7 separate regions of the Homo sapiens genome follow, and all the other regions are linked to region 1. The links are contacts of gene promoters, found by promoter capture Hi-C in blood cells and fetal thymus (Javierre and others, 2016). All regions are on one chromosome and are shown on one strand. Each heading gives the region's core, a stretch centred on a gene start or on the middle of the fragment in contact. The rest is flanking DNA. Distances are from core to core; before and after follow the strand shown. Region 1 holds the start of H2AC18 (H2A clustered histone 18). Region 2 has its middle 25 kb from the start of ANP32E. Region 3 has its middle 23 kb from the start of LINC02988. Region 4 overlaps VPS45 (vacuolar protein sorting 45 homolog). Region 5 overlaps PLEKHO1 (pleckstrin homology domain containing O1). Region 6 overlaps CA14 (carbonic anhydrase 14). Region 7 overlaps VPS45 (vacuolar protein sorting 45 homolog).

Region 1 (3,046 bases), core at 489-2,988:
AGGGCTACGGTGCCGGGCCGGTAGCGGTGCGGCTTCTTCACCCCGCCCGTGGCCGGCGCGCTCTTGCGGGCCGCCTTGGTGGCCAGCTGCTTCCTCGGGGCCTTGCCGCCGGTCGACTTGCGAGCAGTCTGCTTAGTACGGGCCATAGCGAACCAAAACACAGGCTTACCAGCGCAGCGGCGGGGAGAAAAACGAGCTCCTAGCCCCGCCGCAGCCGTCTTTATAAGCACAGTCTTTTCCCGATTGGGCGGAACAATAATTGAAAATCCCGCGCTGGCTGTCCATTGGCTGTGACGTCACCCGTCCTAAAGTCACCGGTTGGCTTGGGCAGATTCCTCCCTAATCCCGCCCACCCCGCCTCACTTTCTACTTACCAGTTGGCGAAGTTTCGCAAGCTTGTTTTTCCCCTTTCCTTCAGGGTGAAAGTCATTTTCCATTGCAGCTTTGTCAGATTGTTCCCTTTCCGCCCTTCGCTTCCTTAGAACACACTGCCCGCAATACCCCCCCTTTCTTGCTGCGCCCTACAGCTCCCGCGTGGAACCTCATTCTTCCATTTGCCCCCCGCCCCCAGTTGCTACTTGGCGGATCGTTTTTCGCCTGTCGGGTGCCTTTTGGGTGGGAGAGGTGCCCGCCCCCAGGACGCAAGATTCCGCCTCCGAGGCCCTTACTCTCCGCCGCCAGGGCGCTTTGGAAAACAAAACAGAAACTAAGACTTAAGTCAGCTCAGTGAAGCCAAGACCCAGCTCCGCCACACTAGCGAGCACTACCCGCTCAGGGCCCTCCCCATCGGGGGTGGGGACGAGGAGCACGTCCCGCTGGTGCCAGACTAGGTCTAAGTGTCCGGCCATAGCCTGCGGAAACCACTAGGGAAGCGCGCGCTCCGCGCGCAACACTTCAGCGCGTTGGGTACTGCCCGCGGCGCTGGTGTTTGTGACTGTGTGGAGCGGACCGTGGCGGCGCCCAGGACGTTTGGTGCCTGCACCTGCCCTGGGAAGTCCTAGGACTGGGGACCCACTCATCGAAGAGCCAAGGCAGTTACGTGCTCCAGATGGAAGACGGCGCGCACACACACACACCCCGCCCCGCCCCGCCCCGTCCCGTCCCGTCCCGTCCCGTCCCGTCCCGTCAGCTCCAGGTTCGCTATTCACTACTGAGGAACGCTGGACTGAGAGTGGCCAGCATTAACAACTCTTTTATTTGAAAACGTGGGTGGCTCTGAAAAGAGCCTTTTGAGTTCACAGGTGCCCCTTCGAGACGCGGGCCGGGCTGGGCCCACTTGGGCCGGACGTCAGCCTCACTTGCCCTTTGCCTTGTGGTGACTCTCCGTCTTCTTAGGGAGCAGTACGGCCTGGATGTTAGGCAAGACGCCGCCCTGGGCGATGGTGACTTTGCCCAGCAGCTTGTTCAGTTCCTCGTCGTTGCGGATGGCCAGCTGGAGGTGACGAGGGATGATGCGCGTCTTCTTGTTGTCCCGAGCCGCGTTGCCCGCCAGCTCCAGGATCTCGGCGGTCAGATACTCGAGGACCGCAGCCATGTAGACGGGCGCGCCGGCCCCCACTCGCTCCGCGTAGTTGCCTTTGCGCAGCAAGCGATGCACTCGCCCTACCGGGAACTGAAGGCCAGCGCGGGACGAGCGCGACTTGGCCTTGGCGCGGGCCTTGCCTCCTTGCTTGCCACGACCAGACATGACAGCGATAGTAGTCACCGAGAGAAACTCCTGCCTGGCGATCGGGAAAGTCGCCGAAAACGCCGCTGCTTCACCTTTTTATAGACAGAACGGCGATTGTCCACGGAGCACTTTGATTGGCTCAAGCAAATTTTGTCCCGATAGCCAATAGGATAGCTCAGCCAGAATCCACTCATTTACATAATCTCGTCTCCCTCGCATTGCGCGCCGCGGAAAACTCGCGAACCATAACGCAGCGTCATGCGCACAGCCTCTGTAAGTACACAGTCGTTTCCGGTAGACCCCGAGCCTACCGCTCTGCTTGCGTTCTCGGGGGTCGGTGTCGGTCTTGGGTCTGGCCATGCCTGAGCCTGCAAAGTTCGCGCCGGCTCCCAAGAAGGGCTCCAAGAAAGCCGTCACCAAAGCCCAGAAGAAAGACGGCAAGAAGCGCAAGCGCAGCCGCAAGGAGAGCTACTCCATCTACGTGTACAAGGTGCTGAAGCGGGTCCACCCCGACACCGGCATCTGGTGCAAGGCCATGGGCATCATGAACTCCTTCCTCAACGACATCTTCGAGCGCATCGCGGGAGAGGCGTCCCGCCTGGCGCACTACAACAAGCGCTCCACCATCACGTCCCGGAGATCCAGACGGCCGTGCGCCTGCTGCTGCCCGGCGAGCTGGCCAAGCACGCCGTGTCCGAGGGCACCAAGGCGGTCACCAAGTACGCCAGCTCCAAGTGAGTCCCTGCCGGGACCTGGCGCTCGCTCGCTCCCTCCCTCCCTCCCTCCGCGGGTCGCCGGCTGCTTTGTCTCCAAAGGCTCTTTTCAGGGCCACTTAACCCCGTTAGTGAAATAAGCTGTTTTCCCACTGCTTACTGTGAGTTCTACTTAGGGGTTTTCCCTCAGCACCTATCCCTTTTCCTGCAGATGATGGGAGAGGAATATAAGATAAAGCTATAAGATGTAGCTTGGTCGAGAACTACCTTGTAGTGACAGGGTCATGTGCACATAATTTGCCTTTTCCAAAGTGAGACGATATGCTACGGGTGCGGTCAATGTAAATCTGCTCAGGAGAGTCAAGGGAAAAAGTGTTAACTGCATATTGAGCTCGCAAAATTGTGTAGTAACCTGAAAATATTCCTAATAGTTTTGCGACCAAGCCTCACCATATAAACTTTCCTTCCGCACCTGTAGACCTCCATTCTGTGGTTGAAGCAATTTTTGGTTTATATAGCTCTCTTGTCTCAATTTGGTATTCCTTTCAGGTACTGTGAGTCTATAGGTATTTATTTCTGGGTTTCAAGACGTTAAATGCCATCAGAATTGAGTAATGCAAAGGCTGCTGTCATGGATAGTAAAGCTTTTTAGTCAAGTGCTGAT
Region 2 (3,156 bases), core at 302-2,801, 370 kb after region 1:
GAACACAACAAATACTAAAACCTCTAGAAAGAATAGTGTGGATCAGGGTAGGTTCCTCATACTTGTCAAACACATAAAATATCCCTCTAGCACCCTCTCCTCCACTTCTATGCTCACCTGAGAGGATTCTGATTGTGCACTTGGCCTCTCAGTTACCTTTCCTAGAAGGGATACACGAGACCTTCACCTAGCAACATGACTACTGCACTTGAAATGTGGCTAATCCAGGCACTTTGGGAGGCCAAGGAGGGAGGATCACTTGAGCCCAGGAGTTTGAGACCAGCCTGGGCAACATGGTGAGATCCTATCTTTATAAAAAGAAAAAAAAGAAGAAGAAAGTAACTAAATAAAAATAAAACTCTGTTAAAAAAAAAAAGAAAGAAAGAAAAGTGGCTATCTGAATTGAGATTTGCTGTAAGCATAAAATCCATCCCAGATTTGGAAGACTTTGCATGAAAAAAATACAAAACATCTTACTAATGATTTTTTACATTGATTACATGTAGAAAGTATAATATTTTGAATATGTTGGGTTAATTAAAATACATTAAAATTAATTTTACCTGTTTCTTTTTAGTTTTTTAAATATGTCTACTAGAAAATTCTAAATACATCTGTGACTTGCATTTTTATTTTATTTATTTATTTATTTCTTGAGACAGAGTCTCATTCTGTCACCCAGGCTGGAGTAGAGTGGCTCGATCTTGGCTTACTGCAGCCTCTGCCTCCCAGGCACAAACAATTCTCCTACCTCAGCCTCCCGAGTAACTGGGATTACAGACACCCACCACCATGCCTGGCTAATTTTTGTGTTTTTAGTAGAGACAGGGTTTCACCATGTTGGCCAGGCTGGTCTCCAACTCCTGACCTCAGGTGATCCACCCGCCTTGGCCTCCCAAAGTGCTGGGATTATAGGTGAGAGCCACCGCACTCCACCAACTTGCATTTTTGACAGAATTATATGTCTATTAAAGAGCGCCAATTTAGAACACTGAACAATAATACCATAAACAATGTAAATATACATTCTCCCTGTAAATTAATAAATTGACAACTTGATTTAGAAATCTGACTTTGGTGAATTTTCACGGCACAAGTCTGTCCCTCACATATTGATCGATTTTGTATTTACAAACTCAAATACATCTCCTTCTATAGCCCTGCAAAATGAAGGATCACGCCTTCACTGAAGTGAGCAAATCAAAGTTTTGGCATCTTCTGAGCTTTCTGGGCACAAGCTGTCAGCTCAGCCATTTCTCTGCCTGCAATTTCGCTCTTGGTTTATAATCTTGGGTTTAGGCTGTTTTTCAAGGGATAGAGTTGGTATCATTCATATTTGTTTTCCTATCACTTATGTTCCTTAAACAAAGGATTTTAAAAGTTTGTTAAATATTCTACATTTTATGCCTTTGATCATAGCTGTAAGACTGCTTGCCTTGAAAAGGATTTGCACATAATTCTCCATGGTTTTTTTCTTAATATGTTAATTGCAAACCGCTTGTAAAGATTGAGTACATGAAGATCTGAAAGACAGCAGTTATTTACAGTCATGTAAAGTAAAAATGGCAAGTGATATCTAATTAATAGCTAATAACCTAATAATATGGAGTGGAAACTTGATAACCATTACAGCACACTGTATTTTATTATCAAGGACAGAGCCTTAGAGACAGACCACAGAATTGATGTTTCATCATTATGCGATGGCCTACATTATATGACCTCTTATTTGTCCCTCAACTCCAATAGCAACCTCAAGGCTGATATAGAATAGCAGTGGAAAGGAAAATAAATGACACAAAAAGAAAAGTAGGTTTATCATGGGACCAATGTAGTGCTTTGGCCTCATAGCAGAGACCAGATGGTAGCAGCTCCTCTCTCAGCAGGTAGCTCTTCAATATCCTACGGGTTGTAAACAACAAATTCACATCATCTCCACCTGCTAATAAGTATTTTTTAAAATATTGCGGCAACATCGAAACAATGCTGAAAATACAATCCCTCAATATAAGAAAAAAAGTTTTCCTAAATATTTAGTCTGTTAAAAGAAAAAGTCTTTTCTGAGAAATGCTATTACCCACTAGAAAATCTTGGCTTCTTAAAATCCAAGAATATTCTCATCTCTTTTTTTTTTTTTTTTCTTTTTTTGAGACAGAGTCTCACTCTGTTGCCCAGGCCAGAGTGCAGTGGCGCGATCTTGGCTCACTGCAAGCTCCACCTCCCAGGTTCAAGCGATTCTCCTGCCTCAGCCTCCTGAGTAGCTGGGATTACAGGCACGTGCCACCATGCCCGGCTAATTTTTGTATTTTTTAGTAGAGACGAGGTTTCACCATATTGGCCAGGCTGCTCTCCAACTCCTGACCTTGTGATCCACCTGCCTCGGCGTCCCAAAGTGTTGGGATTACAGGCGTGAGCCACAGCGCTCGGCCTCTTTTTTTTAAATAAAGTAAATGGCCCTCATTTTACCCAATTTTGTGACTTTGTAAAAGCCAATGAAAATGCCTGAGAAACTACTGACATTAGTTTTACTGCAGTTAAATATTTGTTAACTTTGCCAGGCGCGGTGTCCCGTGCCTGTAGTCCCAGCTACTTGGGAGGCTGAGGCAGGAGACGGCTTGAGCCCAGGAGTTCTGGGCTGTAGTGTGCTATACCGATCGCGTGTCCGCACTAAGTTCGGCACCAATATGGTGACCTCCCAGGAACAGGGGACCACGAGGTTGCCTAAGGGGAGGGGTAAACTGGCCAAGGTCAGAAATAGAGCAGGTCAAAACTCCCGTGCGGATCAGTAGCAGGATCGTGCTTGTGAATAGCCACTGCACTCCACCCTGGGTAACAGACCCTGTCTCTCTAGATAGATAGATAGATAGATAGATAGATAGATAGATAGATAGATAGATAGAGCGTATATATATACATATGCTAATTCTATAGAAACATGTAACTGTCCTTTGACATTTTAATAAAAATTGTGTATACAAGATTTCAAATTTAATTATTCTCTTCTCCTTCCATAGGATCAAAGACATCTTTTGGTTGCACAAGAAAAAGTGAAGCAAATATTCTCTGAAAAGTGACTGATGCCAATAAAACGTATAATTTTTGTATGTTTAATAGAGATGGGGTTTCACCATGTGTTGGCGCGCGCCTGTAGTCCCA
Region 3 (2,856 bases), core at 118-2,617, 340 kb after region 1:
ACAAAAACAAATAAAAGCAAATACCTTTTCAGGAATCTCACTTGGAAAACCAAGTATAATGGCAAAAACAACCAAAAAAAAAAACCCGAATGTTTTCAGCGTTGGGGATGTTGGGGGTGTAGACATCTCGAGAGCTGGTTTCCGAAGGCACCGCACCCCAGACAATGTGCTACAAGAGCCTCCCGGCTGCTGTGTCAATGAAGCCTTTCAGGCCCTCCACACTGCTTCACTTGTTCCCTAAAGTAGTGCTTTCTGGAAGCTAAACTCTCAGCTGGCGAGAACAGTGAACTCTGTGCCATTTGTCTATCAACTCCTTTAAAAAGAAAAACCTCCTGTACGGCTCTCTTGTTTTGCATTTTCTATTCTGCACTCCAGTACGCATAACGACACACAGAAGAGGCAAGGGCCTCTTTTAAAACCGTGAAGAAAGAATAAATTTGAAAGCACCCAGAAGCCTCTGCTTTCAGCTATTAGAGAAAAGTTTGCATCCCATAGAAACCAGTACTAATTAAAAAAAAAAAAACTCAGTCCTCAACCCTGGGAATCAACAATAAGGGACTCTTCAGGGTGTGGAGTAACAAAAAAATTTAAAAACAAAAAATAAATGTGCACAGCCCATCTATCTTTTCCCAATCAAATAATACAGCCTTCCAAAATGTAAAAATAGAAATATTTTCACATGTGAATTTTACCTCAATAAAGTAATTTTTTAAAAATCTTTTTAGCCGGGCACAGTGGCTCATGCTTATAATCCCAGCATTTTGGGAGGCCAAGGCAGGCAGATCACGAGGTCAGGAGTTCAAGATCAGCCTGGCCAAGATGGTGAAACCCCATCTCTACTAAAAATACAAAAAATTAGCCAGGCATGGTGGTGCACACCTGTAATCTCAGCTACTCGGGAGCTGAGGCAGGAGAATCGCTTGAACCCAGGAGACAGAGGTTGCAGTGATCCAAGACTGAGCCTGCACTCCAGCCTGGGTAACAAGAGTGAAACTCAGTCTCACAAAAAAAAAAAAAGAAGAAGAAGAAAACAGGAAGTGCCTTCCATAATTCCAAATACAGTATTGTTAAATATTAATGTATTATGTCCAAATAGTTCAGTGAATTTCAAGTTTTCATCCAGATGAATGGAGTTCTTCATATTCATTCAACTAATAAATATTCCTTGAGCATCTACGACATGCTAGGCATTTTTACAAGTAAAAACAAAAGTAGACAAAAATTGCTGTCTTTATGGACTCTATATTCTAGTAGAGGGCAGAAAAGCCAGTGACCGATAAAAGCCAGTGACCAACACTTGTGTTTTTTAGCTGACTTATTCTTGGGTATTTAAAAGAGATCTTGGGCCGAGCAGTGGCTCATGTCTGTAATCCCAGCATGTTGGGAGGCCGAGGCGGGCGAATCATCTGAGGTCAGGAGTTCGAGACCAGCCTGGCTAACATGGTAAAACCCCATCTCTACTAAAAACACAAAAAATTAGCCAGGCGTGTTTGGCGCACGCCTGTAATCCCAGCTACTCGGGAGGCTGAGGCAGGAGAATTCCTTGAACCTGGGAGGCGGAGGTTGCAATGAGCTGAGATTGCGCCATGGCACTCTGGCTTGGGCAACAAGAGCAGAACTCCGTCTGAAAAAAAAAAAAGATCTTGAAGTTCAAAAATTATACGAGTCTGTTATTTTCCTAGTCTTTTCTCCACTCCAAAGAAAGATAAACCTAATTGGTATTCCTTACCACTACAACAATCAGGACCACTGAAGTGAGAGGAAAGGAAGCTATACAAGGATGTATTTAAAGCTCATTACTTAAACAAAATGAAAACATAAGATCCAGAGAGTTCTTTTTATGTTTGTTTAAGAGCTTCAGAAAGGCTGGGCAGGCTGGCACATGCCTGTTGTCCTAGCTACTCGGGAGGCTGAGGCAGAAGGATAGCTTAAGCCCAGGAATTTGTATCCACCCCAGGCAACATAGTGAGGCCTCATTAAAAAAAAAAAGGAAAGAAAAAAGGGTTTTAGAAAACATAATCTGATGCACAGATTATAGAGTTTTGCATTTTTAAAAAATAGATCTAATTGATAAGACAGCAAAAAATGAATATGTGGAACCCAGCAATTTCATTCCACGTACACACTAGAGCAGTAATCAGCAAACATTTTCTGCATAGAATTAGATACCAGATATTTTAGGCTTTGCACGCCATCCAGTCTCTGTTACAACCACTCACTAGGCCTGAAAACGGCCTTAGGTAATATATAAATGCATGAGCATGGCTGTTCCAATAAAACTTTACTTATGGACACTGAAACTTGAATTTTCATGTGTCATAAAATATTAGTCTTTCCATTTTTAAAAACCATTCAGAAATGTAAAAACCACCTTAGTGTCTGGGTCATACAAAAAAAAGGTGGAGGGTCCACGGGCCAGACCATGGTTTGCCAATCCCTGCTCTAAAGAACTCTTACAGGCCAGGCACAGTGGCTCGCGCTTATAATCCCAGCACTTTGGGAGGCCAAGGTGGGCAGATCACATGAGGCCAGGAGTTCAAGACCAGCCTGGCCAACACAGTGAAACCCTGTCTCTACTAAAAATACAAAAATTAACTGAGTGTGGTGTCGCGCATCCGTGGTCCCAGCTACTTGGGAGGCTGAGGCACGAAAACCGCTTGAACCCAGGAGGCAGATGTTGCAGTGAGCCGAAGTCGTGCCACTGCATTCCACCCTGGGTGACAGAGCAAGACTCTGTCTTAAAAACAAACAGACAAAAAGAACTCTTACATACACATAACTCAACTACACATGAGAATGTTCATAACATCATTATGTGAATTAGCAAGTATGCAGATACCAAAAATGTTGGTAGAC
Region 4 (3,204 bases), core at 592-3,091, 300 kb after region 1:
TGCACTTGCTCTTTCCCAGATACATGCTCTGTTGCCTCATTCAGGTCTTGACTCAAATGTCAGTTTCTCAGGGAGGCCTTCCTTGGGTACTAGTTTTTGTTTTTGTTTTGGGGGGATGTTTTTTATGGTAGCATTTTATTCCTCTTCAAGAAAAGCTATTACCTAACATTGATGAACTCTCTTTTTTTTGAGACAGAGTCTCACTCTGTCACCCATGCTGGGGTGCAATGGGATGATCATAGCTCACTGCAGTCTCTAAATCCTGGGCTCATGCTCAAGTGATCTTTCCACCTCAGCTTCCTGAGGAGCTGGGACTACAGGTGTGCACCACAATGCTTGGCTAATTTTTAAAATTTTTTGTAGAGGGTCTTGCTATGTTGTCCAGGCTGGTCTTGAACTCCTGGACTCAAGCAATAGGATTAAAAATATCCTCCTGTTTCGGCCTACCAGAGTTCTGGGATTATAGGCGTGAGCCACCATGGGCAGCCAGTCACTAGTTTTATTTTATTTTTGTTGTTGTTGTTGTTGTTGTTTTGAGATGGAGTCTTGCTTTGGTGCCCAGCCTGGAGTGCTGTGGTGCAATCTCAGCTCACTGTAACCTCCGCCTCCCAGGTTCAAACGATTCTTGTGCCTCAGCCTCCCAAGTAGCTGAGATTACAGGCATGCACCACCACGCCTGGCTAATTTTTGTATTTTTAGTAGAGACAGGGTTTCACCATGTTGGTCAAGCTGATCTGAAACTCGTGACCTCAAGTGACCTCAAGTGATCCTCCCGCCTTGGCCTCCCAAAGTGCTGGGATTACAGGCGTGAGCCACCGCACCCAGCCCAGTCACTAGTTTTAAAATCTCACACCACTACCATCTCCAATACTCCTTTTTTAAACCTGCTTTATCTTTTCCCATAGTATTTCTTCATCTAACATATTACAAAGAGGCAGTATAGCATTATAGTTAAGAAGACAAACTGAAGCCAGATTGCCTGGGATTATATCCCAATTCCATCACTTCTGGTGTGTGTGTGTGTGTGTGTGTGTGTGTGTGTGTGTGTGTGTATTTAAAGTGGAATGGTTTCTGTCCATTAGAGCAGTACTTTGCATATAGTAATATGTGTACACCATTATTATTGTATTATTATTATTAACTACTAATTAATTTTATTTTCCTTCTCTCCCATTGGAATATAAATTCCATGAGAGCAGAGGGGTTTTTTTTTACTTTCTTCATTGCTGTATTCACAGCTTCTAGAACAGTGCCTAGCACATAGTAGACACTCAGTAAATATTTGTTGATCAAATTATGTTATTTCTGGAGTGATGAGGATAAGGAGGGTCAAGGAAGACAAGGTATATGTTTAGAACTTTTACAAAGAGAATGTACTCATGTATCCTTGTGCCCCTAAAAGCTTCATAAGCTTGCATGGAAAATGGACATACAGACAAATAAATTACAACACAGTATATTTACAAGATATGGAAGAATGAGTACGTAACTCTAAGGGGAAAGCAATGCAGTTGAGGAAAGCTTCCTAGAGGAGTAATAATGTGAGAGTTGGGTTTTTAAAGATGCATAGTTCCACCAAACAAAGTGTGAGATGGATGGGACAGCCTTTGAATAGCAGGTGCAAAAGCAAAGAAGTATGAAACATAGCAGTGGCTCTGAAAACTGCAAGCCGTGGAAGTTGAGAGGTGAGGAGCATTTTCAGTGTTTTAAGCTATTAATAATTTCATCTTATCCTTCTGCCTTACCCACTCCCATACTCCTAACTTCTCCAAGTAAGTGTTTGGCTGTAATTAGGAGCTTATTACTCCATTAAGACAAATATCTTGGGGTTTTTCTCATTATTTTCCTGAAAGTCTTTTTCTATTTTTCTGCTCCCCACAAGTTCTATTTTTTTAATTATTATAACACTATTCAGGTTCTAGATTCCCCTTGGTGTCTTTGGTATAAGAAATTCACATGTAATTTTTACCTGTGGAGTATAGTGAAAAAGGAGGAAGACATATCCTTAAATTATATACACATACACACACATAGTTTTTGTTACAGTATGATAGCTTTGTTTAGGAATAGAAACACAGTTGTTCAGCTGAATTATTTTAGTAATTAATATTTTTAATCCTATAAACATTGGTCTCTAGTCCCTTACCAGTGATGTAAGTGGAGAAGCTTGCTTTTCAGTGTGTGACTCAAGACTTCTCAAGGTTGACTTTTTAAAATCAGGGTTGGGGTTCTGCTTTTTTCCACCCACCTTCCTTCTATACATGGAGTCAGGAAAACACCCTTGATGACAGCACAAACTAAAAAAAGCAGTAGCATTAATCCACTCTGTTAGTTTCTGGCACTGCCTCTGTTTATACTCATATTGGATTGTGATTGTGTATCTGTCTCTGAGAGTCCCTTAAGGTAGGAATCATAACTAAGGTGTACATTTGTACACCTAGTTCAACACCTAGTTCATAATGGATGCTCATTAAACATTTGTTGAATTGGATTGAATTGAACTGAATTGAACTGGACTATGGCACCAACGGAGAAGGGGATTTTTGAGTTTGCTTTTAAGTGAGATTGATTTAAAATGAATTTAGAAAGAAAAATTATTCTTTTTGTTTTGTTTTTAAACATAGTCTAAATTTGGGGTACAGCTAGCAATATGTTCATTCGCCATAATTTTTTAAGCATTCTGAGCAATGACTCATTAGAGTCCCCAAATAGTTTTTTTTTAAGTCATAGTGGCCCTAGGAAACAAAATTAGGCTGGTAAATATAAATAGTAAGTGTGTTCTCATTATAGTCAGGAATGTGGGGTCTTGTTGATATACAGAGGAGGATCTTTATTTCTTCCCTTTGTAGCAGAGTTGGAAATGAACCAAAGATCCCCTGATAAAATTCCTATAGGGCTTCCCAGCACATTTATTTCATTCTTTCTAGAAGTCATCAAGACTTATTGTGTTATTGTTCAAAAAAAAATCAGTGCTACCTCATTTCCTAACACTTGTTTTCTGACCTCCAATTGTGTCTAGTCCAACTGGCCAAAAAGCCAGGCCAAAGATGTCTGTATTTCCATAGAGGAACAAATGAACTTAGCTTCTACTCCTTTCCCTCTACTTTGCAATTTTTTCTTTTGCAAAGGAGTTTGGAATTTAAATTCTCCAAGCCCAGAATCTTTCAATGCAAGATGGTAATAAAACTGCAAAACAATGGTAAT
Region 5 (2,750 bases), core at 65-2,564, 320 kb after region 1:
CCTTCCACCCAATGCCTCTGCCAGATCTAAATCAAAAGGTTTTATTCAGCGCCCATTAGGAGTTCAAAAGTCCCAGCTCCCAGTAATGTTACCCTCTTTCGGAGAAAATGAGTTATACCCACAGGAAAATGAAAAATTAGCTACTGTATGGTGGCTGTCTTGATGGGTAACAACATGTAGTACCGCGGGTGTTTGGAGGAGAAAGGATCACAATGAACTCCTGAAACATACAACGTGCTAGTTTCTTTCATGCCTCTGAGCTCTTAAGTCTTCAGAGAGAGAGGCAGGCAGGTATAATGCAGAGAACACAGGCTTTGGAGTTAGAACCTGAGTTGGAACCTCACTGTAATCAGCTACCTGTGTGGTTCCCTGAAGTTGCATGTCTCCAACTGTAAAATGAGGCAGTAATCATGCCTGCCTTGAAGGGCTGCTGTGAGGAATGACTAAAACAACATATTTGGTATTGAATACTCATCATTTTTAGTATTCTGGAAATAAGAGAACAAATTTTATTATAAGGCAAGGGGGCTGAAGTGTGGGACTCAGAGGATGCAGATGGAGGAGGACAGTCGTGCCATGGGGAGCATCCTGTGTGCATCAGATGCAGTTTAATTGCTGAGAGTCCACAATACCAAGGAAGAGGGCGCCCCTCAGGAAGCTTATGGTAGAGTGGAGAATACAGGAAACAAGTAACAAACTAAATCACAGAAGAAGAAACATTCAAGTCACTATCAAAGGAATAAGAAACAGCACATTCAGTAGGAGGGTTCAGTCAAGAGCAGAGGGCTTTGCCAGGCAGGGGGGCTCACACCTGTAATCCCAGTACTTTGGGAGGCTGAGACGGTGTATCACTTGAGGTCAGGAGTTTGAGACCAGCCATGGCCAACATGGTGAAACCCTGCCTCTGCTAAAAATACAAAAAAAAAGAGCTGGGCGTGGTGGTGCACGCATGTAATCCCAGCTACTCGGGAGGCTGAGGCAGGAGAATGGCGTGAACCCGGGAGGCGGAGCTTGCAGTGAGCTCAAATCGTGCCACTGCACTCCAGCCTGGGTGACAGAGCAAGACTCTGTCTCTAAAAAAAAGTACTTCTCATTCAAGGAAGGCTTGTAGAGGAAAATGACCACAGCTTGCATCTTTTAGGCAGTCATTCCGAAAATCCCTCCTGATGACAGGTTCCCCACTCATTCCCCCCTTCCTCCACAGGCTTCCACCTCTACCTCGGATGGGATGCTGACCTTGGACTTGATCCAAGAGGAAGACCCTTCCCCTGAGGAACCAACCTCTTGTGCTGAGAGCTTTCGGGTTGACCTGGACAAGTCTGTGGCCCAGCTGGCAGGGAGCCGGCGGAGAGCGGACTCAGACCGCATCCAGCCCTCCGCAGACCGGGCAAGCAGTCTCTCCCGACCTTGGGAAAAAACAGACAAAGGGGCCACCTACACCCCCCAGGCACCCAAGAAGTTGACGCCCACAGAGAAAGGCCGCTGCGCCTCCCTGGAGGAGATCCTATCTCAGCGGGATGCTGCCTCTGCCCGCACCCTCCAGCTGCGGGCTGAGGAACCCCCAACCCCTGCCCTCCCCAACCCGGGGCAGCTGTCCCGGATCCAGGACCTGGTAGCAAGGAAACTGGAGGAGACTCAGGAGCTTCTGGCAGAGGTTCAGGGACTGGGAGATGGGAAGCGAAAGGCCAAGGACCCCCCTCGGTCTCCGCCGGATTCTGAGTCAGAGCAGCTGCTGCTGGAGACGGAACGGCTGCTGGGAGAGGCATCATCGAATTGGAGCCAGGCAAAGAGGGTGCTGCAGGAGGTCAGGGAGCTGAGAGACCTGTACAGACAGATGGACCTGCAGACCCCGGACTCCCACCTCAGACAGACCACCCCGCACAGTCAGTACCGGAAGAGCCTGATGTGAGGGCAGGGTGGGGTCTGGAACTTGTCGGGTTGGACAGACTCTTATCTCCGTGTTGCTGGATAAAGCTTTTTTATTTACCTCAATCAAAAAAAGAAAACAAAAATGAACTCATTGCTCTTGCTGATGCCTGACCCCACTACAACCCTTATTGCCCCACCTACTTTCCATATGCCCCTCGTATGCCCCTCAGGTTTGAGGAAGTGACCCCGCAGCAGTAGCAGGAAGTTTTTACCCAGCCAGAGAGAGAGAAGGCACGGTAAAGACACAGTCTGACCACTCCACACACCGCCCGCCCCCAAGACGGCACAGGGAGTCCACTGCTGCTCCCAAGGATACAGTGGGCTTCTAAGCTTAGAGCGGGAGGGGGATGAGGATGTTTTCTGTTATGTCCCACCCCAGGCCTTCAGTTTGAGGGTGAAGTTTCAGCTGCCCAACTCTAGTTGTAGGGATGTGGAGGCCAGTGTCACCTGTCCGTGCACATGGAAGTGAAATTTATCCCAGCCCTGAGGAGGATTTGTGGAATTAAAATCTCCCCAGCCAGACACTGGCTTCTCATTCCTAGCAGTCTCTCATTGAGATCGAGCTGCCTGGATTTTCTTACATGAGGTGTTTCTTCCCTTCATCTTCCACACCCTTCCCAACCTTGACTCAAAGATCCACCCTTGTCGGGCGCAGTGGCTCACGCCTGTAATCCCAGCACTTTGGGAGGCCAAGGCGGGTGGATCACCTGAGGTCAGAAGTTTGAGACCAGCCTGACCGACATGATGAAACCCAGTCTCTACCGAAAATACAAAAAATTAGCCAGGCATGGTGGTGGGCGCCTGTAATCCCAGCTATGCGG
Region 6 (2,795 bases), core at 157-2,656, 420 kb after region 1:
AGCCTTAAAAATCTATAGCAGGAAGTAAGATTAGACTTTCAAAAACTATCCTTAAAAGCCTTGGGATGAAGCAATTACATAGAGCCAAGGAATTTTGCTTCTGGGAGCCCTATCTAGGTAAGCTAGGGCACACTGAAAGGAAGATGAGTCCCAGTCTGTTCTCCCCAGATCAGAAGACCTCAGTGCCTCCCTTCAACCTAAGAGAGCTGCTCCCCAAACAGCTGGGGCAGTACTTCCGCTACAATGGCTCGCTCACAACTCCCCCTTGCTACCAGAGTGTGCTCTGGACAGTTTTTTATAGAAGGTCCCAGATTTCAATGGAACAGGTAAGTGGTGGAGAAACGAGGTGAGGTGAGACACAGTTGTAACTTCAGACCCCTTCCCACTCCCCAAAGTAACACCTCTCCCACGCTTCTGCTCCTCAGCTGGAAAAGCTTCAGGGGACATTGTTCTCCACAGAAGAGGAGCCCTCTAAGCTTCTGGTACAGAACTACCGAGCCCTTCAGCCTCTCAATCAGCGCATGGTCTTTGCTTCTTTCATCCAAGGTGATTCTGCACGGCTCAGAAGAGATGGGAAACTGAGGGGGACACAATGGCAGGAACTAGGGAGCCAATGGGAAGAAAAGGCTAAAAGGGGAGGGGGTTTCTGGGACTTGCTTGGACTGGGAACCAACCCCCACCCCAGGGTGCCCCCGGGGGATTCTCCCAGGCACAGCAGCAGAGAGTGCTGCTCCCAGCTGGGATGGGGATCTGAAGTCCCACTGACCCATTTTCTTCTCTTACAGCAGGATCCTCGTATACCACAGGTAAGCCAGCCTTATAAGATAATGCGGGGAGGGGAGGTGTCCTCACCGAGTGGGGGAAAGGCTCAAAATCTATGTTAGTCCTAGGCTGACACCTTTTACCTTTATCTCCCCCAGGTGAAATGCTGAGTCTAGGTGTAGGAATCTTGGTTGGCTGTCTCTGCCTTCTCCTGGCTGTTTATTTCATTGCTAGAAAGATTCGGTGAGGCCCTACTTTCCATTCCTCCAGTCCCTTCTTCTTTTTTTTTTTTTTTTTGGTAGGTGGGAGACGGAGTCTTGCTCTGTTACTCAGTCTGGAGTGCAGTGGTGTGCAATCTCAGCTCACTGCAACCTCTGCCTTCTGGGTTCAAGCAATTCTCCTGCCTCAGCCTCCCGAGTAGCTGGGACTACAGGCACGCACCATCACACCCAGCTAATTTTTGTACTTTTAGTAGAGACAAGGTTTCACCATATTGGCCAGGCTGGTCTCAAACTCCTGACCTCAGGCAATTCGCCTGCCTCAGCCTCCCAAAGTACTGGGATTATAGGCATGAGCCACCCGCTTTTTGAGACAGGTTCTCACTGTTGTCGAGGCTGGAGTGCATGGCTTTATCACAGCTCACTGCAACCTCCACCTCCCGGGCTCAAGTGGTCCTCCCACCTCAGCCTCCTGAGTAGGTGGGACTACAGGCATGTGCCACCATGCCCAGATAATTTTTGTATTTTTAGCAGAGACGGGTTTTCACTACATTGCCCAGGCTGGTCTCCAACTCCTGACCTCAAGTGATCCGCCCGCCTCAGCCTCCCAAAGTGCTGGGATTATAGGTGTGAAACACCTTGCCCAGCCCTCTTTTCTGTTAAAAAGCATTCTCCTATTTCACCTCTAATCTGCTTCACTTAGATAGCAGTCATTCTCATGAGCCATTCCCCTTTCCAGGAAGAAGAGGCTGGAAAACCGAAAGAGTGTGGTCTTCACCTCAGCACAAGCCACGACTGAGGCATAAATTCCTTCTCAGATACCATGGATGTGGATGACTTCCCTTCATGCCTATCAGGAAGCCTCTAAAATGGGGTGTAGGATCTGGCCAGAAACACTGTAGGAGTAGTAAGCAGATGTCCTCCTTCCCCTGGACATCTCCTAGAGAGGAATGGACCCAGGCTGTCATTCCAGGAAGAACTGCAGAGCCTTCAGCCTCTCCAAACATGTAGGAGGAAATGAGGAAATCGCTGTGTTGTTAATGCAGAGAACAAACTCTGTTTAGTTGCAGGGGAAGTTTGGGATATACCCCAAAGTCCTCTACCCCCTCACTTTTATGGCCCTTTCCCTAGATATACTGCGGGATCTCTCCTTAGGATAAAGAGTTGCTGTTGAAGTTGTATATTTTTGATCAATATATTTGGAAATTAAAGTTTCTGACTTTAATTCTGGCCTATCCTTTGAGGCTCTTGAGGGTGGGCAAGTTCCTGAATCCCTCAGGTGGTAAAGATGGGCAAAGGATGGGGAAAAGAAGCATGGGTGATTAACTCCTTTTATCCCACCCCTGGAAGGAAAGATAAGCTTCTGGGAAGACACTTAACCCAAAGTTTCAGACATGTTAAACCACTAGCCCAGATTTCTGCCCTTGCACCAAGGCTATGCTTGGAAATCAGTGGTTGCCAGGTTAGGAAAGTGGCTGGATGAGAGATCTGAGGACAGAAATCTCAATTAACATGCTATCCCCTCCCTTAAAAGCCAAGTTCCCCCACAATTACAAATTCTTTTTTATTAGTCAAAATCACAATCACCTTGATTAAAAGGATGGGACACTCCACCCTCAGCAGAAAATGATACAGTTTATAGAAAACCTCCCCGCCCCTCCCACACCCCAATTAAAAACTACAAAAAAATCTCCCCTCCTTCCCTACGATGTCATGGTAGTCTGACTCCTCCAGTGGCACTGCAGCTCTGGAGTGGCCAGCTCACCACAGCACCCTCCACTTCACCTTGGGGAGAGGAGGGATGCTGGTGGTTAA
Region 7 (3,135 bases), core at 576-3,075, 270 kb after region 1:
GTAGTAAATCCAGGGGACTCTCAATTCCCACCTTATTTTCCCCACTGCTGCATTTCACACTATTAACCATTCTTTTCTTCTTGAGACTCAGTTGGGCCTCAACCTCTCCCTTCTGATTCTCCTCCTACCTTTCTGAAAATGTCCTTCTCAGTTGCTAATGCTGGCTACTCTTTTTACTTGTTTTTTAGTTATTAGGGACTCAGCAAAAAATCTGTCTTTTGGTTTTCTTCTCATTCTACATGATCTCCCTAGATAAAACTCATCTATTCCCATGGCTTCAGCTACCACATATTCGGGGAAAGCACTAGACCTGAATATACAGATGTCTAGTGGGCATCTCCATTAGAATATTCCACAGGTATCTAAAACACAGCATGTTTTTGTCTTATGCACAGTAAATGTCCTTTTTCTCAAACCTAAACCACTACACCTAGTTACCAAAACCAGAAAACAAAGTTATGGACTCCCCCTTTACCCCTATCCTCCACATTCAGTCATTGACCAAATACTGAAGAATATGTATTTTTTTGTGACTGGACATCCAGTACCTCCTCTTCACCCTTTCTGGGATGTCTTTAGTTCTAGGTTTCATCATATCTTCCCAGAAGTCTTACACTAGCCTTTTATTCTCCAACTTTTCCCAACAGTTACACCCAATTCATTCTTGCACAGCTGCCAAAACTATCCTTCAAAAAAGCAAATTTGGCTGGGCATGGTGGCTCACACCTGTAATCCTAGCACTTTGGGAGGCGAAGGCTGGCAGATCACCTGAGGTCAGGAGTTCAAGACCCCCTGCCTGGCCAACATGGTGAAACCTCGTCTCTATTAAAAATACAAAAAGTAGTCTGGCATGGTGGCGCACGCCTGTATTCCCAGCTACTTAGGAGGCTGAGGCAGGAGAATCGTTTGAACCCAGGAGGCAGAGGTTGCAGTGAGCTGACATTGCACCACTGCACTCCAGCCTGGGTGACAAGAGCAAGACTCCGTCTCAAAAAAAAAGCAAATTTGATCATAGTAACCTGTGAGAACCCCATGACCTGTGAGATTTGAGGTGTGTGAGCTGGCTTATGCTTTTCCCTCTTTTTCTCACTATGTCCCCAACTTCACTTCTGCTCCAAAGGAAGAGTTAGGATGAGTCCAAAGTTTTTGGCCCAAGCAACTAGAAGGCTAAAGTGACCATCAAGTAAGATAGGGAAGGCTATAGGTAGAACAGACTTAGGGAAGATTGGGGATTTAAAATGTGTTGAATTGAGAAATAATTAAACATCCAAATGGAAATGTCAAGTAAACAGGTATTTAAGTCTGGAGTTTAGAAGAAAGGTCTGGGCTGGAGATGGAGATTTGGGAACCATCAGCAGATGTATTTACAACCAAAAAATGGTGTGATTATCCAGGGAAGGAAATGTGCTGTTTCTCTGGTAACTAGTAATGTAACCACTTGTCAGTGTAGCTGTTGAGCACTTGAAATGTGGCTAGTGCTACTGGGGAATTAAATATTTAATTTTATTTTGGTTAATTTAAATTTAAATAACCATAAGTGACAAGTGGTCACTATACTGAATGGAACAGATGGAGAGAATGAGTTTAGATTAAGAAGAAAGGAGGATCAATGTCTGGGCTCTGAGTATTCCACAATTAAGAGGTCACAGAGATGAAGTGGGACCATAAAAGGATACTGAAAAGTAGCAAGGGAAAAAATCAAATATGAAATTTTCTGGAAACCAATTGAAGAAGGTATATCCAGGAGGAGCAAGTGATCACCTCAGTCATATGTTGCTGATAAGTCAAGTAATATAAAACTGTTCTACCTCACCCATCATCAGGCAATAGTTTCATAAGGAACACACAACCTAGATCCCTCCCATGCGTAGTTCACAGTAGGATTTGCACTCCTATGAGAATCTAACGCCTCCACGGATCTAAGAGGAGGCAGAACTCAGGCCCTAATACTCACTGCTCACCTCCTGCTGTGCCCCCGCCCAGTTCCTAACAGACCACGGACTGGTATTGGTCCTCAGCCTGGGTTTGGGGACCCTTATCGTAATTGACACTTTACCATAACACCCTCTTCATCATTGGTAGCTTGTATAACTGTTTTTAGGGGGAAGGTTTTTTTGGGGTGTTTTTGTTTGTTTGTTTTTGGAGATGGAGTCTCTGTTGCCCAGGCTGGAGTATGGTGGCACGATCTTGGCTCACTGCAACTTTCACCTCCCAGATTCAAGCAATTCTCCTGCCTCAGCCTCCCGAGTAGCTGGGATTACGGGCAGCTAGCACTACGCCCAGCTAATTTTGTATTTTTAGTAGAGCCTGGGTTTCACCATGTTGGCCAGGCTGGTTTCAAACTCCTGACCTCAAGTGATCCGCCTTCCTCGGCCTCCCAAAATGCATATAGGCATGAGCCATCATCCCCACCCTTGTATAAATTTTACTGGGAAATCTCTGCAATTTAGAGACTATCTGAACATTTTAAAATAGCCACAATAGCTGATTCTGTTTCAGTGAAGTCCCACAAGAACAAATACTCTCTCAGTTAATTCTTTCAAGGTATTTTAGAAAGAGAGAGAGAGAGACAAGCAGGAAGGAAATGTAGGGTTGGGGTTTTTTTCATGATTTATACATAAGCATGTATATTCCTTGATTAAAGATGTTTCTGGTTAGTTTTGTGCAATAACATTCAAAACGGATGCTTCTGATTGATGTAGTTTTAGTGTCCAATGAGTGATTTAACAAAATTATTTGCCTAGTAATGGTTTTGAAAATAATTTGATCTCCTTCTTGGTGATATTTAAGGAAGGAGCTAATAGGAACATTCACTTTTGTTATGAAGCCATTTTGATACGGATTGAAACAGGAAACAGAGTAAAACAACACAGTGCTACCCAAGTGAAGCTAGTGACTGAGCTGTGTTCGCATGTCCAGTATCAGCTACACTCATGGTTTTTTTGGTTTCCATGGTTTCTTTTTCTTGGTTTATCAAAGGATTCAGAAAAAAGATTTCAAGAAAAGATAGAGTTCCTAGAAGCACCATTAATTTTTGTGTCCCATTCTTTTTTTTATACTCAAAATACTAAATGTTTCTAGTTTCCATGTTTTGGGGACATCTAAATATGCTAGTTCTTTCAAAAATGCTTTGAG

What was found. The method cuts DNA at HindIII sites, captures the fragments that hold promoters and counts their contacts. A CHiCAGO score of 5 or more calls a contact.
Region 2: a fragment that was not itself captured here is called in contact with the fragment with the promoter of H2AC18 in region 1 in 13 of 17 cell types (total B cells, naive CD8 T cells, monocytes and 10 more); the score reaches 7.7 in total B cells.
Region 3: a fragment that was not itself captured here is called in contact with the fragment with the promoter of H2AC18 in region 1 in 17 of 17 cell types (neutrophils, total B cells, naive B cells and 14 more); the score reaches 13.9 in neutrophils.
Region 4: a fragment that was not itself captured here is called in contact with the fragment with the promoter of H2AC18 in region 1 in 7 of 17 cell types (M0 macrophages, M2 macrophages, M1 macrophages and 4 more); the score reaches 8.8 in M0 macrophages.
Region 5: a fragment that was not itself captured here is called in contact with the fragment with the promoter of H2AC18 in region 1 in 13 of 17 cell types (endothelial precursors, M1 macrophages, naive B cells and 10 more); the score reaches 11.6 in endothelial precursors.
Region 6: a fragment that was not itself captured here is called in contact with the fragment with the promoter of H2AC18 in region 1 in 1 of 17 cell types (M2 macrophages); the score reaches 5.2 in M2 macrophages.
Region 7: a fragment that was not itself captured here is called in contact with the fragment with the promoter of H2AC18 in region 1 in 2 of 17 cell types (activated CD4 T cells and total CD4 T cells); the score reaches 5.4 in activated CD4 T cells.

The regions. Positions count from the first base shown.
Region 1 is chr1:149,841,012-149,844,057 of GRCh38, forward strand. It overlaps H2AC18 (H2A clustered histone 18), which reads right to left and starts at 1,739. Exons shown (of 1, transcript NM_003516.3): 1 at 1,207-1,739. The coding sequence starts at 1,687. The coding sequence ends at 1,295. H3C14 (H3 clustered histone 14) reads right to left here and starts at 197. Exons shown (of 1, transcript NM_021059.3): 1 at 1-197. The coding sequence starts at 146. It also overlaps the pseudogene H2BC19P. RefSeq lists an enhancer at 1-38. The HindIII fragment of the contact is 2,631 bases long and covers 394-3,024 here.
Region 2 is chr1:150,209,079-150,212,234 of GRCh38, forward strand. It overlaps the pseudogene RN7SL480P. Among named protein-coding and RNA genes, the nearest start is that of ANP32E, 25 kb to the right of the region's middle. The HindIII fragment of the contact is 5,688 bases long and covers 1-3,156 here.
Region 3 is chr1:150,182,218-150,185,073 of GRCh38, forward strand. No RefSeq gene overlaps it. Among named protein-coding and RNA genes, the nearest start is that of LINC02988, 23 kb to the left of the region's middle. The HindIII fragment of the contact is 8,966 bases long and covers 1-2,856 here.
Region 4 is chr1:150,139,377-150,142,580 of GRCh38, forward strand. All of the region lies in intron 14 of VPS45 (vacuolar protein sorting 45 homolog), which reads left to right. Among named protein-coding and RNA genes, the nearest start is that of PLEKHO1, 8.9 kb to the right of the region's middle. The HindIII fragment of the contact is 645 bases long and covers 1,520-2,164 here.
Region 5 is chr1:150,157,615-150,160,364 of GRCh38, forward strand. PLEKHO1 (pleckstrin homology domain containing O1) reads left to right here. Exons shown (of 6, transcript NM_016274.6): 6 at 1,205-2,451. The coding sequence ends at 1,909. Among named protein-coding and RNA genes, the nearest start is that of LINC02988, 1.7 kb to the right of the region's middle. RefSeq lists an enhancer at 1,242-1,743 and a silencer at 2,044-2,093. The HindIII fragment of the contact is 1,316 bases long and covers 657-1,972 here.
Region 6 is chr1:150,262,874-150,265,668 of GRCh38, forward strand. CA14 (carbonic anhydrase 14) reads left to right here. Exons shown (of 11, transcript NM_012113.3): 7 at 169-326; 8 at 426-546; 9 at 786-806; 10 at 921-1,005; 11 at 1,720-2,205. The coding sequence ends at 1,786. It overlaps APH1A (aph-1A gamma-secretase subunit), which reads right to left. Exons shown (of 7, transcript NM_001077628.3): 7 at 2,531-2,795. Among named protein-coding and RNA genes, the nearest start is that of SNORD13C, 2.6 kb to the left of the region's middle. The HindIII fragment of the contact is 1,864 bases long and covers 475-2,338 here.
Region 7 is chr1:150,106,912-150,110,046 of GRCh38, forward strand. All of the region lies in intron 13 of VPS45 (vacuolar protein sorting 45 homolog), which reads left to right. Among named protein-coding and RNA genes, the nearest start is that of VPS45, 41 kb to the left of the region's middle. The HindIII fragment of the contact is 3,882 bases long and covers 1-3,135 here.